Linked DNA regions of Homo sapiens: regions 1 and 3 are each linked to region 2. The links are contacts of gene promoters, found by promoter capture Hi-C in blood cells and fetal thymus (Javierre and others, 2016). All regions are on one chromosome and are shown on one strand. The core of a region is centred on a gene start or on the middle of the fragment in contact, and the rest is flanking DNA. Distances in the headings are between cores, read along the strand shown.

Region 1 (2,984 bases), core at 284-2,783, 200 kb before region 2:
TAACATTTGCATTTAAAACACAACTGTCATAAGCAATGGATGTTGCTTTCAAACCCTTAATACAAGTGGAAAAATTTTGAAAACCTTGCTACTCAGAGTGTGGTCCATGGACCAGCAGCGTGAGCATCACCCAGGAGCTTGCTAGAATGAGAAAAGCAGAATCTCAGATCCTATCCCACATCCACTAAACCAGAATGTGCCTTCCCAGGTGATTTGTCTGCATGTTCAAGTTTGAGAAGGAGAGCTGTTGAAAACATTCAGAAATTATGACATGACTGATACTTTGAGAAGTTCTCTAAGGATCAGACAGCAGAGGAGCAAAACTAGTCTGTCTGGAAGAAATCATCAGTTGATTAGTGAAACATCAATCAGGGATTAATCAAGGATTTGAAAGAGAACAGGAACCTGGCAGCTAGGGAAACAGTGTAAGAGGCTGAATCTAAGAAGCAAGCATAATCTTACAAAAGCAAGATAGACCAGACTTCAACTTTCAGAAGCATAGTCTTTACTGGAAATTCTTTATCCCACTTGCTGATTGCAGGAAACAGTCACTTCCAGCAAGGTAAGGGGTGGTAGGAATGTGGTTGGCAGGAAGTCCCTTTGGGGACTTTGCAGGCAGGAACCTCCCTCTGTGACAGAGGGACATTGCTGTTATCTCAGGCTAGGCTGGCCTCCATACTAGCAGGCCTGGGCTACCTGTGCTTACACCTCTTCCTTCTTCACTCAGCCTCAGCATCACTGTGCCATATGGTCAGGCCTCCAAAATCTGCCTTAGCTGTATTCCTCCGTCGTCTTTCTTTTAAAGGTTGAATTTCATCAGGATTTATTTGAAACTCTTGTTTAAAAGCCTGATTCTTGCCCTCCCAACTCCAAGTCCTCAAGGGACCTGATAGTGAAGGTCCAGGATGGGATCTAGAAAATACATTTGTAATAAGCACCATATGTGATTTTGCTGCAGATGTTTCCAGACTAGATTTGCAGAAGCAGCCTTCCTTCAGTCGCACTCCTTTGCTGCTCAGAGTCTTACCAATTGAGAGGTGAGGATATGGAGACTCTCAGATACATGCTGGATCCTTTGTAATATCTACTCCCTCTCTAACTTCTCCTTTGCAGCGTCAGTTTTCCAGACTATGTTCTTCTTCCCTACTCCTTCATCACTTTTTCCCTCTGCCCTCACTGCCTTCCAGTGACCTTCAGACAGGTACAGGCTACCCATCCACAAATATTCAGCCCTCACCAACTCTCACCCACTCTAAATTCCTCTAACATGGTCTCTTTCTTGCTATCTCCAATTCCACTTGTGGAATTCTCCTCTGGATTCCAGCCAGCTTGTACTCTTCTCTTCTACAGTTTCTCCAGGTCTCCAATTACTTCTTTGAGGGCATATTAAAAAGCCTCTTTATGCTTCTCCTCCTTGACCGCACAGCTGCATCTGCCACTGCCAATCACCCTCTTCTCTGAGCACCCTAGCACTGCTGGGATGGGCATGTTCAAGGCTGCATCACACTTTGCCTTTCGACAGAATCAATGAGCCTGGCTCCTGTACTGTAGATAGATCTCAGGATTCAGCAGGTGTTCCTTCTCACTGCCTCAGGTGCTTCCTTTAATCCTCTGGAAATTGTAATACTGCTGGGGAAGCCTAAAAGCTAAACTATCTTCACAATCGACTGTATTAGGACTGTTTGAAGATCTGATCTTACAGTCAGGACTGGCTACATGGTTTGCAAGGGCCAGTGCAAAAAGAAAATGTGGACCCTTTGTTTAAAAGGTCTTAAGAAATTTCCAGATGATGGTAGCAGAACTTAAACCAGGGGGAGGGCTTTTTATTTTTAAGTGCAGAGCCTGTGTGACTTCGTAGATCACATGCTCAGGAAGCTGGCTCTGCTGATGGTTGACCCAGCCTGTTAGCTTGGTGACCCTCAGGACCAGATAAGTTAGTGAGAACATGGTTAAAATTCAGATAAACTCATAGCTCACATTCCCAATATACCAGCTAGTTTTCCCAGTGCAACACCCTCCAGGGTCACAGTCTTCACTTCTCACTTCTGTAGGTTCCAACATGGGCCTCGTCATCACCAGAAGGACAGGGGAGCATGAGAATGACACAGCACAGCTACTCACCAAAAGGATGGGGAAGAAACAGCCCAACAGGGCAGGTCAGAAGCATCATCATCGTTGTTTTCATAATTGGAGTACCGAATAGTATAAAACTCAATCCTAAATGCTGTGCTCTAGCTCTTCCCCATTTCCAGCCCCTAAACCCCACAAGACCAGACTGGAGACAGAAACTGGAATCCAAGCAGCAACAAGCCTCCCTGCTTTCTTTGGGGCAGAGCCAAAAAGAGATAAAGAACGTGTTGTATTAGGCAGCAGTAAACAGGCAAGGGACAAGCAGGCCTTTAATAAAACAGACCTTTATTGGGGCTAAAATGGCCCAGGGCTGACCCTACCCTAAATCCTGGCAGTGTCCAACGACAGGAATTCAGAGGAACAAAAACGCTGGCATTGCCTGCTGCATCCCATGCATACATAACAGAAAGCACTGCAGAACCTCACAAGCAAGGAATACATAAATGCCATTATCCAGTCTTTCAGCCAAAACTTATTTTTTAGTCTGGACGACTATGCTATTCTGCTTTCTCTGCCTCCAATTTCTGTCCTGTGACTCACAGGGAGGGCTTTGGGGAAATGAAATATCCCAAGACCTAAAATAGGTCCTTCTCCCTCCCTCTAATATCAGGATGAGTTTCCTAAGGCATTTGTTTCTTCCTTAATTAACCAGGCATGAATGATAATATTGCCTGGGTTGAAGAACTCATCTCTGTCACTGGTAAATATAAATAACGAGCCCTGTTCATAGAAAAGCGTGCCAGAATTTCATTGATTAACATCCCGTGCCACAGCCTCTCTTTGAAATTAAAAACACTTTCAATGACACTGAAAAGACATTGCACAAAAAAAAATATTTCTAAGACAAGGTTGTC
Region 2 (3,087 bases), core at 233-2,732:
GGTACTGCTGTATCACATGTTTGTGACCCCTTCCTTCATTGCTAACATATGTCATCCTAAAACCCGCCTTCAAGCTCGTTTCCTTCAGGAATACTGATTAACCGCACTTGTGATAGGTCACCAATCACATTTAAGCCCCCTGGACTCCACTGTTATTCTTTTAAAACATATTTAAAATAGTTTCAGACACAAAATAGGAACATACCAAGTCTTTTTTATATATTGTGGTATATATACAGTAATATCCTCCAATGCATATTTTAAACACACTAGAAGTAGTGTGATTTTTCACATACTGTTCTGTTTAGTCTCTGAAATGAAAGATATGAAGCATAAAGAGTAATCCTACTGCCATGAAGTCATTTGACCTCACTTGTTTTCTCTTACTCATTGTGATTGCTGCGACTTATGAAGTTGATCCCAGCTTGGACATTGGCATGTATGATTTTGGAAAATGGTTCTTTAAAGGACTATACGAATGTGGTCATTTAAAGCTGTTTCAGAAAATGTATTGCTCCTGCTGTGATATTAGAAATGGCAATTTTTAAACATGTCAAAGTTTGATTATAAAATGGATAGTTTAAAAAGCTGCCTTGGTCTACTGCTTGATGCATTTTAAATTTGAAATGGATCTTTGAACACTTGTATGGCTGCTGGACTAGCGGTTGTTAAGTTTGTTGGTTTGCCACTTAGAGTCATCTATCACTTTAGTAAGAAGTTAACGCCTATCAGTTGGAGAAAAAGCAAATATTTTGCATTGACAGTCTCCCCTACCCTCTATTATTGTCATTTTCTTAAGCCATCACTGCTCTGGCTTCTAGAATACACATTTTTGAATGAAGGTTTTTGCAGTGAATGGTCTCTTGTAGATCTCAAAGTCCACTAGAAAGAGTACTGGGTTTTTGTTTGTTTTGAACGTTGCAAACAGTAATGCTTCTTTACCACTCACCCTCCCCCCACCCTCAACCTCCACAACGTTCCCGTTTGCTTATAGTTGTCAACGACCATGATCTCTGGACCCACACTACAGTAACAAGTTTGTCAGTCATTTTCAGATAAGGTGCAAATCAAGGGATGGCTTTGTCCCCACTTCGGCGCAGGTGGGACAGACTTGGGGAAGACGCAGCTGAAGAGACAAATTCTCAGGGTGCGTCAGTCTCATCACTGACCGTTGCTTTTAAACCCTCCAGGGAAAATATGCCAGTCATTGTTATGATGTAAACAACCGAAGGGGTGGACGGTGAGGATAAGAAGAACCGAGATAATATTTGGCCAGAGCTACGTGTAGCACAGGGAGCCAGGGCGGCAGCTGCACCTGCGAGCAGCGCAGGCGGCAGGCGCGGCCTCCGGGCGTGGTGGTGGGCGTGGCCGGGCGGCGGGGGCGTGGCCGGGCGGCGGGGCGGGCGGTGCCGCCGGTTGGAAGTGGGTGGAGTTGCCCTTGGAGGCGGCACCGGACCTGGGCCCCGAGGCCCGCCGCGCCCTGTCGGGCCTGAGCCGAGTGGCCCCACAGAGCCGGCGCGCTCCCGCCTGCAGGGGGAGAGCAGACGGGGCGCGGGGACCGGCCAGGCCGCGGCGGGTGCTGTTTCTGTTTCACTTTCCTTCACTCTGAGGCCGGCGCGCTGGCGGGCGAGGAGCGGCGGCGGTGGCGGCCGCTGGGTAGGTACCGGGCGGGCTGGGGAGCTGCAGGGACGCCAGACTCCTCACCCAAGTTTGCGCCTCAGGCGAGAGCGACACCTCCAGACACCTGCCCTGGCCGGCCCAGCCTGGAGCCGGGAGGGCCCTTCGGGTGCAGGGGGCTACCGACCCGGGCGGGGGCTTCGGAGCTGTGCCTACCTCGGCGGGGAGAGCGGCCGGCTGCGGACGCCGGCCCCGGGAAAGGCTGCTCGCTCTCCCCGGCCTGAGCAGCGCGCCCGCGGGGCCTGGGCCCGCGCACCTGCCGGGCGGGCGCGGCTGTGCTGGGACCCCACAGGGCTGTACCGCTGGGTCCTGCCGGAGAACGCAGAAAAGTTCCCCCTTGCCCCCGCCCCGTCATTGCAAGTTCTTGCTTCCCTTAACTGTCTTGGTCACAGGGCTCTGTGCCTTAGGATCTTAGTACCACCCCAGGTCGGGACCGTGCATTTCCTCTTCCAGAGGACTTTCTCTTACTTTGGAGTTTCATGGCAAACCTGTGGGAAAGGCAAGGCAGTTAATCCCAACTTATAGAGGAGGAAGCCGAGACCCAGGCTCAGATATGAAACGGTTTGCTGAAGGTCATACAGGGGTAAGGGCCAGAACCCTGATTCCCTGTCTTTTAATTATGCTTGCTTTCTGTTACACGCACGAATACGGTTTCCCAAGAGGATAGGATGATTACACGTAGAGCCTATTCCCTGCACATTCGCAGTGGGTATGTGTTGATGGAATGCCTTTTACCTTTCCGGTTGCTTTATATTTACCAATGAGTTAACAGCTAAGATGGGGGAAAGTTCCTGTTTATAGAATGCACTTAGGAAAATCAACACCTTTCATGTTGTGTTTTCTGAGAGGATACATATTTTACAGTTAAAAAAAAAAAAAAACCTGAGACAGGAAAGTAGCATTATCCAGGTTATATATCTACTAAATATGACCAGTTTCTATTGAAGAGTTTTTGGTCTAACAAAGAAGGTAAAGAATGAACGTAACTATAAATCAAAATAAAAGGCAAATGTAATAGGAAAGAAGTAAGCATTAAAAACTAGGGAAAGATTGCACTGAGAATAGCATTGGAGAAGGGCTTGAAGGATAGGTGGCATGCAGACAGAGGAGAGAAAGGGCGTGTTGGATAGAGTGCTTAGAACCTGCAGAGGAGACGGTGGGAGAGGAGTGATCCCTTCAGGTTGAAGAAAGTTGTTGAAGGGTATATTAAGGTTAACCTGTAGAAGGTCTTATGTGACAGAATGGGAAACATTTTTCTGTTTGTAAAGAGAAGACACTGACATTCGTTGATAAGAAGACCCAACCAAGTGTCACAAAATAAAATGTGCCTCGTAGCAGAATATAAGATGGACTGCAGGTGGAGAGGTGATATACAAGTAGAGCAGCCGGGCATGGAATAGCAGAGGATAT
Region 3 (2,797 bases), core at 107-2,606, 140 kb before region 2:
TTAAAAAAAAAGATTGCCCTAATTGTCCCCCAATAGGTCCTCCTTAGTACTAGAATTTCCTCCAATACTGTATTTCTTTTGAGCTAGGTGTGGCCTTGTGAACTAGTTCAGTCAATGATTCAAGAATAAAAGTGACACAACAGCTTCTAGATCATCTTGTTAAAGACAAGTTTGCCCTTTCTGCAGGCTGTGCCACAGACATAAAGGTGACAAAGCTTTGGCCATGAAGATGGGGACATGGCAGAACTAGAAGGTGGAAGGAGCCCTGTGTCCCTGCAGGACCACATGGAGCAAGAGATGCCTCACTGGCTCAGTGACTGGCTGCTTTTTGAGTCATCTTACGTTTGTGTTTCTTGACACAGTTACTCGGCCTAATACCCTAACTAAAACTCATGCTATTTTCTTGTATCTAAGGTCTTCTTCTGAAGGCCTAAATCACAAACTGCTTGAAGTCTCCCCTAGACTTTAATACCTAAATTTATTGAAAAGATGTTCCTGGGAGAGGAAGAGAGAATAAGAAATGAACTTTGGACAAGAGGAAAGAGAAGGGATTATTTCAGAACCCATAAACAGAAGGGACCCTCTCTCCACTCTCTGGCAGAGTCCCACGAATAGTATGTCATAGGGGGAACTACTGCATTGTGCCCCAGGGAAGCTCCAAGCCTCATCGTACAATACCATGTTTGGAGGTGGTGGGGGCAGAGATGCCAGATGCGAGGGGAGAATTTGAACTGGAACAAAGAAAGGCTTAGCAATAACCAGCCAATCAGTTAACAAAGGGTGCATGCTAATGCTCTACCATTGGAAAATCCAGGAACATTTAATCCAATAGCTATCAGTGTGGAGCCTCAATACTAAGTAGGATGGATTTCCCATTTGCCTGGAAGGATGGAAACACTGAGATAGAATTTACTTTTAAATAAACACAGAAGTATGGTATTTCTGGCACTCCAAAGTTTGTGGGTATAGAGTCAATCAAATACATCATCATCGTTGTTGTTTTACCCAAGAGTCACACCAGGTTTTGTATCTATACCAGGGTAATCCCTGCCTTGGCCCAGGGACTATCTAAGGCTGAGCTGCAGAGTGAAGGCATTTGTGTCTCCAGTGAGGAGGACAGGGAAGGCAAGGCAGGAGGCAACCTCATGCTTTCAAATGACTATGGCTCTATATCTGGGTGCCTCTAATGTCTACCAGGTTATCTTTCTCTCTACCACAGTACTGAGCTTGACAAAATCAAATAGGGGTAGCTTGGGGACAGTGATTACTCAGTGTCCTTCATCTAAAGCTCCTTGGGAACAGTGAACTCCTGGGTATAAGCATCACAAGAGGATGGGGGTCTTTAGGGCCTTCCTTAGAATTGCAGATGAGCTGTAGCCAAGAAAGACTCTAGAGATCCTACAGTACCACCAGTCCTTTACCCACATGAGCAAACCAGGACCCAGAGAGAATAGACTTGCCCACATTTACACAGCTGGTTGGAGGCACACATGAGACAGGGACCAGTGGTCTGGATTCTCAGACTAGTTTCTAATTTGTTACACATAGGAGGAACCTGGAGAAAATTTTGTCCACTGCTTTCACTGGGGGCAACTTAAAGGAGGATGAAATGTCCATATTCCTCCTCCATAGTCTTGCCCAAGGTGCCATAAATTCTCAGTATTTATTTCAACACTTGAAGCCTTAAGCCCATAAGCTCTTAAATGGACATAAGCAGGAACAAAATTCCACGTGAATGCAGAAGGGCATGTGGAAGACAAAAAAGTGCTGACAGGTGGGCTTCCGGAGGACTCATGGGAGAGCTGTCTTCCAGCTGTGTTCCAGCATCTCTCTTTCATTCTCTTCCTCCCTCCCTCTATCCCCTTCCATCCCTCTCTCCTTCCCCCTTTACTCCTCCCCTCTGTCCCTTCTCTCCCTTTCTCCCCTCTGTCTCCCTGAATGACAGACATGCACATCTTTCCTAGTTGGGGGAGGTGTACAAGAGGAGCTAGGGTTAATAAAGACAAGAATTTTTCTAGTGGCCAGTGCCTCCTGGAAACCTCTGAGATGCTTTGTAAATTACAAAGGGCTAACAAACTGTGAAAAGGCTCACTAAAAAGGCCTGAGATTTTATGGCCCTAAGTCAGGTGTAACAAACAGCTAGAGAAGGCAAACAAAGCTGCTTCTTGGCACCCAAGTGCACTGGTCCGGAGAAGTGAAGTAGCCAGCCCAACTGTCTGTTCTCAAACTCTTCCTTCCTCTCTTCCTTTCACCGTCTCCCCCTTCTTCCCTCCCTCCTACTTTTCCTCCCTTCCTTTTCTCACCCATTAACTAATCCAAAAACATGTATTTGAGTTTATTCCATGAGCCGGGAACCCTGAGTAGATTCTATGGTTACAAACACAACCTTTAGTCTCTGCCCCAGAGGACATCGTACCATTTTTGTAGATTATTCATTTATTTATTCAACACACATTTAAGTGTCGCTGGGTTAGGACAAATACGGCCCCCCAGGATTGAAGCTTACACGGATACACACCCTACACAATTAGTAACTCCCTTCTACTAAGCATCCAGAGAAATACACGGTTCTAAAGACTGATTACAAAATCGTCTTTCCCTTTTCCCACCCCTTTCTCAACTCCTCCATGCCTGTGTCCACTAATCTTTCTTCCCAAAAAGGGAAATAGTTTGTGCCTGAAATTCTAAACTCCCTGATTTCAGGCAAGGCCTGGGAGAGTATAAATAAGCGTATGAATATTTAGCAAAAATGACTGCTATGCAAAGCTTGAAGCACTGTTGTCATAATGCAGAGCCC

Evidence for each region. Contacts are between HindIII fragments. The CHiCAGO score rates a contact against its expected background, and 5 or more counts as called.
Region 1: a fragment that was not itself captured here is called in contact with the fragment with the promoter of PCGF5 in region 2 in 3 of 17 cell types (naive CD4 T cells, naive CD8 T cells and non-activated CD4 T cells); the score reaches 7.8 in naive CD4 T cells.
Region 3: a contact is called between a fragment that was not itself captured here and the fragment with the promoter of PCGF5 in region 2, in 1 of 17 cell types (naive CD8 T cells). The highest score is 5.3, in naive CD8 T cells.

What each region holds. Positions count from the first base shown.
Region 1 is chr10:91,021,202-91,024,185 of GRCh38, forward strand. It overlaps LOC124902479 (a long non-coding RNA gene), which reads right to left and starts at 2,277. Exons shown (of 2, transcript XR_007062238.1): 1 at 2,122-2,277. The HindIII fragment of the contact is 3,179 bases long and covers 1-2,984 here.
Region 2 is chr10:91,219,181-91,222,267 of GRCh38, forward strand. It overlaps PCGF5 (polycomb group ring finger 5), which reads left to right and starts at 1,483. Exons shown (of 10, transcript NM_032373.5): 1 at 1,483-1,656. RefSeq lists an enhancer at 1,023-1,092 and silencers at 1,283-1,592, 1,663-2,122, 1,812-2,106. The HindIII fragment of the contact is 12,523 bases long and covers 1-3,087 here.
Region 3 is chr10:91,075,040-91,077,836 of GRCh38, forward strand. No RefSeq gene overlaps it. Among named protein-coding and RNA genes, the nearest start is that of LINC00502, 31 kb to the left of the region's middle. The HindIII fragment of the contact is 2,286 bases long and covers 214-2,499 here.